Regions from separate parts of the Homo sapiens genome. Here all the other regions are linked to region 2. Evidence: promoter capture Hi-C in 16 types of primary human blood cells and fetal thymus (Javierre and others, 2016). All regions are on one chromosome and are shown on one strand. The core of a region is centred on a gene start or on the middle of the fragment in contact, and the rest is flanking DNA. Distances in the headings are between cores, read along the strand shown. Region 1 overlaps RAPGEF4 (Rap guanine nucleotide exchange factor 4). Region 2 holds the start of SP9 (Sp9 transcription factor). Region 3 overlaps RAPGEF4 (Rap guanine nucleotide exchange factor 4).

Region 1 (2,733 bases), core at 40-2,539, 1.3 Mb after region 2:
AAGTTCCAAAAGTCACAAAAGTGGCTGGCACAGTGGCTCACGCCTGTAATCCCAGCACTCTGGGAGGCCAAGGCGGGTGGATCACCTGAGGTCAGTAGTTCAAGACAAGCCTGGCCAACATGGCGAAACCCTGTCTCTACTGAAAATACAAAAATTAGCTGGGCGTAGTGGCATGTACCTGTAGTGCCAGCTACTCGGGAGGCTGAGGCAGGAGAATCGCTTAAACCCAGGAGGCAGAGGTTGCAGTGAGCCGAGATCGTGCCACTGCACCCCAGCCTGGGCGACAGAATGAGACTCCATCTCCAAAAAAATAAAATAAAATAAAAAATAAAAACAAAATGATGCTAACTATATTTAGATACTATCCATGTCAGAAGTCCTAATATTATACAAGTTCCATCATCATTTTCATCATCATCACTGTATTCTACAAACTCCCACTGCATTCTGGGCACTAGAGAAATTACATGTTCTGCAGGTAGACGGTGCTTGCATTTGGAAGTTTACAGTCTAAGAGAGGACCAAGCAAGGTTACAGTTGAAGGGAATCAACCCTGTCTGGCCCATACAGCACTCCACAGAGGCAGCATCTGCTGCTGGTCCTTATTTGCAGGTATAAAGGGACAGAAGCAACAACACATGTGACACCCAGGTACAGAGATAAACAGGAGGGGAACATGAATGAATTTTTGGGAAGTTATTGGGTATTTGGAATGAATGTGTGGTCTGAACAGGATCTTGAAGAAGCTGGGCTTTAAAAGATGAAGCAGACAAGCTTGGGCAGGTGAGAATAGCAAGGTTTTCCCTGAGCATCCAGGATGGTCCCTTGGGGTGGAAGGATGGCAACAAGAGCATGAAGATGGGGAAGCTGTCATGAAACTTGCTTGGCAGGAGCAGAGAGCACAGGGGGTCCCCATGGACAGTGTGAACAGTTAGTAGCACATCTTCGTGTACCAGATTAGGAGTTTGTGTTTTGTAATAGACTAGATAATAGACCAGGTTAGTGTCAGCTTTAGAGAGCAAGTGACTCTGAATATAAACCCTACTCTAACTGTGTAGACTTGGATTGATTCCCTAATCTCTTGAGTGTCTGTTTCCAGCTCTGGTAAATTGGGGTCATGATACCTATACCTAGGCTTGTTAAGAGAACTGGATAGGAGTGATTTCAGTGAATCATGTAAATACAGTGCCTGGCACAAAAGAGGTCCCCTCCCCCAAATCAGTTCACTTTCTAGAAGTGCTGCAGCAGGCCGGGCGCGGTGGCTCACGCCTGTAATCCCAGCACTTTGGGAGGCCGAGGCGGGCGGATCACGAGGTCAGGAGATCGAGACCATCCTGGCTAAAACGGTGAAACCCCGTCTCTACTAAAAATACAAAAAATTAGCCGGGCGTAGTGGCGGGCGCCTGTAGTCCCAGCTACTTGGGAGGCTGAGGCAGGAGAATGGCGTGAACCCGGGAGGCGGAGCTTGCAGTGAGCCGAGATCCCGCCACTGCACTCCAGCCTGGGCGACAGAGCGAGACTCCGTCTCAAAAAAAAAAAAAAAAATAATAAAAAAAAGAAGTGCTGTAGCAATGCAAATACACAGAAAAGTGTGATCAGTACAACACCTGGATGTAGGAGCGAAATACTGTTGCTCCCAATTTACTCTACACAGGGGACAGAGGACAGGGAAGAAAAGTGATTCCAAAGTTTTAAATCTTAGGGAACTGAACCGAAGCTGATGGGCAAGTAGCATATGGAAACAAATGAGGAGAATGATTTCAACCAGGGTAGGTCCTAGGTAAAAAAAGTTGGGGAAGCTTATACATTTTAGGGTTTACGACTGCCTCTCAGAGGATCAAACTGGCCTTGCACGTTCTTCCTTCCCTCTTGCAGCTGCTGTGAACACAGCCCTTCTGCTGCTCTGCGGAGCTGCCCCTCCTACGTTATTCCTGCTGTTTGCTCTCTCCTCAGGATTGGAGATACCCAGTACACCTTGCTCCTTCTTTTCCTTGAGGCTTTATAACTTTACATAAGGGGGACAAGTTTACCTAACAACACAGGGAAGAGTCTAATATTAAGAAATATGCAAAGTTCTTTTAGTCGTGGATGCTGGTCTATCACTCCTGCAACCCTTTTGAGAGTAACGGAAAGCTCTGTTGAGTCTCAACTTTTCTTTCAGTGGGCAGGGCTCACCAAGTCTCTCTCCCGGCGTAGGGCAGGTTGACCCCTTCCATGAGCCACGGAAGAGGCAATGTGAGCAGCAAAAGGTGCTTCTCCCTTAGAAGTGGGGAATATAAATGCTCACCCTGGACCCCAGAGGAAGCGCCTCCTTGGGCCATTTTCTTGTACATAGCCCTGTGGAAATGTCCTACAGATAAGGCACAGCAGAGCTTATGTGGAGCCTGCATCGCACAGACAGATCTGAAAGCTGCTTACCCACAGACACAGAACTCCCATGCATTTTCTCCCCACGGTTTTTGAGCCATGATTTCTTTGCTAAGGCTGGAGAGGGGTAATTGGGAGAGTAGCATTGTTATCCTCCCATTTTCCAGATGAGGAGACTAAGACATAAAAGGGATGTGTGGATTGTCAGTGACAAAGAGATGGTGAAGGTAAGCTACCCGGAGCATCTTCCTTTCCTCGTGTGCCCACACCCTCTGTGTCTAGCTCTGCTATGGCCCTTGCTGCACTGCATTCTCACTGGTCACATGCGGGGGTGCCTCACTACACTGTTTGCTCACTGAGGTACAA
Region 2 (2,758 bases), core at 175-2,674:
ACGTGGGCGACGTGGAGGCCAGGCAGAAGGCGCTGTTGGCGGCGCCCGAGCCGCCCGCCAGGCCGCCCGAGCCACGGCCCCCGGTGGCCACCGCGAAGCCCGAGAGGCTGGAGCCGAGGTTGCAGCTGGACGAGGAGCGCTTCCAGGGGTGAAAGCCGCCTTTGGCGAAGGCGCTCGACTCTGGCAGCGTCGTCAGCGGGCTCGTGTTGCCGATCTTGTTGCAGGTCGCCGCCAGCATGGCCAACGGGGTCGTTCCGAAGCGCGGCTCTTCCTAGAGTGGGTGGGATGGGGGAGGGAGCAAGAAGGAGGAGGGCAAGAGGAAGTGGGGGAAGAAACAAAGTGCACCCGTGAGCAGCCTCGTCCCCTGCGGCTGCTCCCGGGGGGTCCTGGCTCCCCGCCTCGCGCCTCCTCCCCACGCGCCCGCGGAGGAGTCGCCGCACCGGGCGCGGAGCAGGGGCGATCACCCGGGCGAAGGTCCAGGCGCCGGAAAGTTGCACTTCGCTGAGGCTATAAATCAAAGATGCCTCCGTGTTCCCCGCTGCAACCCTGCCTACAACCGGACTTGGGTTGTCGCCGTAAACCGGCTCATCTCCCAGAAGACCCCAAGTCGCCCTTCGGGGTGAAGCGCGAAGGTAAACACAGAGACCAGAGACAACAAACACCGGGTGAGGGCGGAGGCGGCCGAAACAGCTGCCAGGGACGGGCGAAACTTGCAGCTCTCCCAGGGTGGCTACGACTTGACTTTTCTTTTTTAATAGAAAACGTTTGGTTTTAAAGTTTACATACACACAAAAACAGCGATTATGAAAACAATAATCCGAGGATAAGCGGCCAGAGACAGATTTCAAAGTCATGGGCGAATTGGGGAGCCGCGGAAATGTAAATGTTTATTAGCGTGACTAGATGGACTGCAAAACGATTAAGACTGTTTTCTGGAAACACCATTGTCGCATAATTGCAACAAAATCCCCAAAGCAATGCGGGGGATGGGGTATAAATCACGAGGGGAAGAAAAGAAACCTCTAGCTTTTTTTTGAAACCAAATGAAAAAGGACTTGATTAAGAAGGCCTTTTCTTGCAAAGGCATCTTTCTGGGTTCCAAAAACTTGGGGAAAAATCAGTCCCAGAAATGTGGAAAGTGCTAATAGAAGCTGAAGCTGCAGTCTAGCAGCAACAGTTTCTCCGGAGCCGCAGACCCCAGAAGCCATAACGAAAAATTACTCCGGTTAAAACAAGCAAATGCGTTGCCGCGCTTGCGACTTACCCCGAGTATAGACGTGGCCATAGCAGGTCTCTGGCTGCGCAGCGAGGCTGGGAGCGGGGCTGAGCCTGGCGGCTGCTCGGAAAAACTGCTTGGGTCCCGCGCGGCTCCCGCGTCCCCGCGCTCGTGCCGAGCGGACTCCAGGCTCCCGCCGGCTAAACTCAGCCTAAGTGCGAGGAGCACCCGCTTTGAAGTGCCGCTGGCTGCGCCTCTCGCCCAATGAGGGCGCAGGCAGAGCAGACCGGAGCTGCCCCGCAGCCAATCAGACGCTCCGAGGGGCCCGAGCCCGGGCTCCCGGCGCGTGCCAGTCAAGTCAGCTAGCTAGGGCCGCGGGGGTGGGGGGGAGTAGTGGGGGATACTTGCGGGGGGGGGGCGAGGGCGGGCTGGGGACTGAAGAAATTACAGTGCAATTAAAAATTTACACTCACGCACCAAGCCAGGTTTAAGTACCAATGAAACCGAGCCACAAGCACCCCCCCACACACAAACCACCCCGAGATGTTGCAAGTTAGGGCTGACAGTCCTACTCGACTCCCCACTTGTAGGAAAGGAGGCAGGAGGGGAGGAGACACCCAGACACAGCCCGCACCAGCAGGGCCCAAGTGGAGACGGAAATGTGAGCCCTCACTTTGTGTGTCCAGGCTTTTGCCTACAGAACACAACTTCAGCTTGTATCTATCATTCTTGCTTGTGATTTTTATCATTTTCGTGTGTCTTCTACCCAATTCCTTATTCCACTAGATTCAATTTCACTCTCACAGTTATACTGGGGAGGGGGCGCGAAGGGACAGCTCCTCCGAGAGGAGCGAAATAGGCCTCTCTGTACAGATCTACATCCACAGATTTGTTGGGAGGGCCTGGAGCCTGCTGCATCCCGCCATTTCCCCCCAGCGGTGTAAGTGACTTCCTAATTGTCGCTCTGGCCTCTGACCCGGGGGGTAATACAAGTGCCACTCACGCTAGAGGCTTCTGGTGGTAATTGAGGGCACCCTTTGTACGGTTTCGCCAGCGCTTAGATACCAGGTTAACCCAGTTGTCAAATATGACTAAACAGTGGGATGTGCTGATTATCTGCCGGGTTTTGCTGTGGGCTGGCATGGGGGTGGGAGGCATCAGCCCATACAACACGCTGCACGAAGCCGCTTATTTTCTCACTGTAACAACTTTGGAAACAGAGACCGGCGCGAGCGGCGTCCGCCCCCACCTCCACCTCCGCTGAAGCTGCAGCTTGCTCGGCTGTTTGTTTAACCCGGTGAAGATTTGCATGTCGCGTTTCATCCTGGAGTGGAGTTTTCTTGTCCCAGCTCCAACCCACTCCCATTCCAGACCACCAGGGCCTAGAGGCTCGTCCGTAGGGCAAGTGCGCTGTTTTAAGAGGTAGGCTCCCCATTAGTGCCCTGCTTTCACGGACGCGCCCGAGAAATCTCTCCAGGACTTTCACCCGGGAGGGCGGAGGACCAGGCCACACGTGGGCGCTTCCACATTTTGCAGGCTGGA
Region 3 (2,700 bases), core at 132-2,631, 1.3 Mb after region 2:
GACCACTGTCTGCACCTCGGCCTGGCACAAGCCAGAGGCTCTGAGGCCGGCATCCCAAACACAAATTTCCCTCAAGCTCTGATGCAGGGAATTTCCCTTGAGTCCGCTGAGGTGTCAGAGGTACCTTGTTCTCAGACTGGGCCTTTGCGGCCTGGCTCTTGGCAGGCGTCACCCTTCTGTGGTGTCCTCCCCTCAGGAGCAGGCCAGCCAAGTTCCACTTTCACTCCTATAAAGACATGACATAGCCTACCAGGACTTTGTGGCTGCCCCCACCTTCCTAGCCAGCTTGCACTGACTCTTGTGCCCTAGTCCAAGTTCCCCCTTTGCTCTCCCACTGCGGAAGAGAAGACTTCATTCTTCAAGTTCTGACCGGCAGGCCCTCCAGGCCACGCCACCTCATTGGTACCACTCTAGGACCTCCCGCTCCCAGACAGCGGCCACAATAGCCTTCCTCTTAGCCTATTATTCTGCCTCTGCTCAGATCCCTCAGGAAGCGGCTCCTCACCGTCAGGCCTCTTCTAAATGCCTGCCCTCAACAGTTTTGATCTTCCTTCTGTTGCCCCTTAAGATCTGTACCATCCTTGCTCTTAATGTTTGCCAGATTGCTTTTTCTTACATTTCTGCCTCTACCGATTTGATTCTGTCTCCAGACCTATGCCTATCAAATATAGGACCTTTGTTAATTACTCCTTGCTTAGCATGTGTAAAACCACATTTACACCATTTGATTATTTCACTCAGACCTCCACATATTTGGGACAAGAATTTTTTTTTTCACAAGATCCAGAAATACACAGTGTCTCACCTAACAAAGATTGTGCCTGTGATAGCAACCAAATGGCCAGGCACAGTGAGGACCAGAGATAAAAGGGAATTGAAGCTGAACTAGCCTTCACTGTGTGCATCATTGAGGAGGAGCCCTGAGTCCGGTCTCCCTACAGATCTTTAGTATCCAAGAGGTGTATGACATGCAGATACGCATGTGTAACACATGCATGATGCTTACGGTATGTGGTATATATGATGACCATGGGAGAAGACAGTTCAGGTGCCTTTCCAGGCACGTGTAGAGCATGTATACCTCTATGTACTCAGGGAGGGACACTGGAGGACAGACACAGCACCACAGGGAGGAGGGGGGACAGAATAATGTCTGGTTAGGAACAGAGGCTAAGGGAAAGTCATCTTTTATAATGTCTCAGTTATGCAAAATGCTTTGGGACATTTTGGTTAATCCAATTTTCTTTCCCTTTTTTTTTTTGATTTGGAGTCTTACTCTATTGCCCAGGTTGGAGTGCAGTGGCACGATCTCGGCTCACTGCAACCTCTGCCACCTGGGTTCAAGCAATTCTCCTGCCTCAGCCTCCTGAATAGCTGGGATTACAGGCGCCCGCCACCATGCCTGGCTAATTTTTGTATTTTTAGTAGAGATGGGGTTTTACCAGGCTGGTCTTGAACTCCTGACCCCATGATCCACCCGCCTCAGTCTCCCAAAGTGCTGGGATTACAGGCGTGAGCCACTGTGCCCAGTTGATTCATCCAATTTTCTAATAAAATAGAAGACACTTTTGGATTTATTACATAAAATATTTGAAAAATGCTTTCGTGCACTAAGCCCAACACTGAAACATTACATTTTATTCAACAAGTACTTCTTGCATACTTACGATGTGCCAGACATTTTTATGGGTGCTGGGGAAATAATGCGTCAGATATTTTTATGGTGCTGGAGAAATATCAGTGAACAAAACAGATACCTGGGCCAGGGCACTTACATTCTGGTAGGGAAGACATTGAAGAGGCAGGAAGATAATCCCAGGCTGTGAAACCCCTATCAAGGCAAGGTTGTGTTGGAGAGTGCTGGGTGTCGCAGAACGGTGTTACACGGAGGTCAGGCACAGTTAGCACCACAGGGAGGAGGGGAGATCAGGGAAGATGTGTGATCTTCTTCCCTTCCCACAAGGGTGGTTAGGGAAGACTATTTTGGAGGAGGGGACCTGTGAGCTGAGGCCTGACTGACGAGGAACCAGACAGCAGACAACTGGGGGAAGACAATTTCAGGCAAAGGTAACAGCTAGTACAAAAAACCCTGAGGCCAAAAGGAGAAGAAGGCAGGTCAGTCTCACCAACTTGGACTGGATACAGAGAAGACAAAGTGTCAGATGAGGCTGGACAGGTGCTTAGGGCTAGTCTAGATCTTCTGATATTATGTCACTGCATATAATGTGGTTTTATTTTCCATTGATAAAACTGCATGAAGTTTTCTTTCCTGCATTTTGCTTTCTGACATCTTTTATTACTATTGTGACCTAGTTTTTATATCTTATGTGGATTTTTAATATTTCATGTGTTTATGTTTTCTCTTCCCAACTGCAGGTAATCTAAAGGCCCAGGGTTACTTTCTAGATGTTTATATTTCTTAGTAAATTCTTTTGCCTGGACACTCCACACATTATGTTGTTTTGAAGCATACCGTTTGGAAATCTGCATTTAGCCTGGCCTGGGAAATCTATACAAAGATGTAAACTCTCAAAGTACTCCCATAGATTTCTTTTGTGTTGGAGAGCTCTGGGAATAGGGTGGACTTGAACACGTAGATTTTTACTTAGAGATTCTTTTTTTCCATAGATTGAGGTAACAAGTGAAGTGCTCTCTCCATGAATCTTATAATAATATTATTGGTGATAGAAAACATATTGT

The links. The method cuts DNA at HindIII sites, captures the fragments that hold promoters and counts their contacts. A CHiCAGO score of 5 or more calls a contact.
Region 1: a fragment that was not itself captured here is called in contact with the fragment with the promoter of SP9 in region 2 in 9 of 17 cell types (naive B cells, naive CD4 T cells, naive CD8 T cells and 6 more); the score reaches 15.4 in naive B cells.
Region 3: a fragment that was not itself captured here is called in contact with the fragment with the promoter of SP9 in region 2 in 2 of 17 cell types (neutrophils and naive B cells); the score reaches 6.9 in neutrophils.

Annotation. Positions count from the first base shown.
Region 1 is chr2:173,023,031-173,025,763 of GRCh38, reverse strand. All of the region lies in intron 23 of RAPGEF4 (Rap guanine nucleotide exchange factor 4), which reads right to left. Among named protein-coding and RNA genes, the nearest start is that of MAP3K20, 51 kb to the left of the region's middle. The HindIII fragment of the contact is 1,025 bases long and covers 777-1,801 here.
Region 2 is chr2:174,333,620-174,336,377 of GRCh38, reverse strand. SP9 (Sp9 transcription factor) reads right to left here and starts at 1,424. Exons shown (of 2, transcript NM_001145250.2): 1 at 1,265-1,424; 2 at 1-271. The coding sequence starts at 1,285. It overlaps LOC102724194 (a long non-coding RNA gene), which reads left to right and starts at 1,402. Exons shown (of 3, transcript XR_427194.5): 1 at 1,402-2,638; 2 at 2,753-2,758. The HindIII fragment of the contact is 13,141 bases long and covers 1-2,758 here.
Region 3 is chr2:173,041,184-173,043,883 of GRCh38, reverse strand. The region is part of intron 29 of RAPGEF4 (Rap guanine nucleotide exchange factor 4); the gene reads right to left. Among named protein-coding and RNA genes, the nearest start is that of MAP3K20, 33 kb to the left of the region's middle. The HindIII fragment of the contact is 8,888 bases long and covers 1-2,700 here.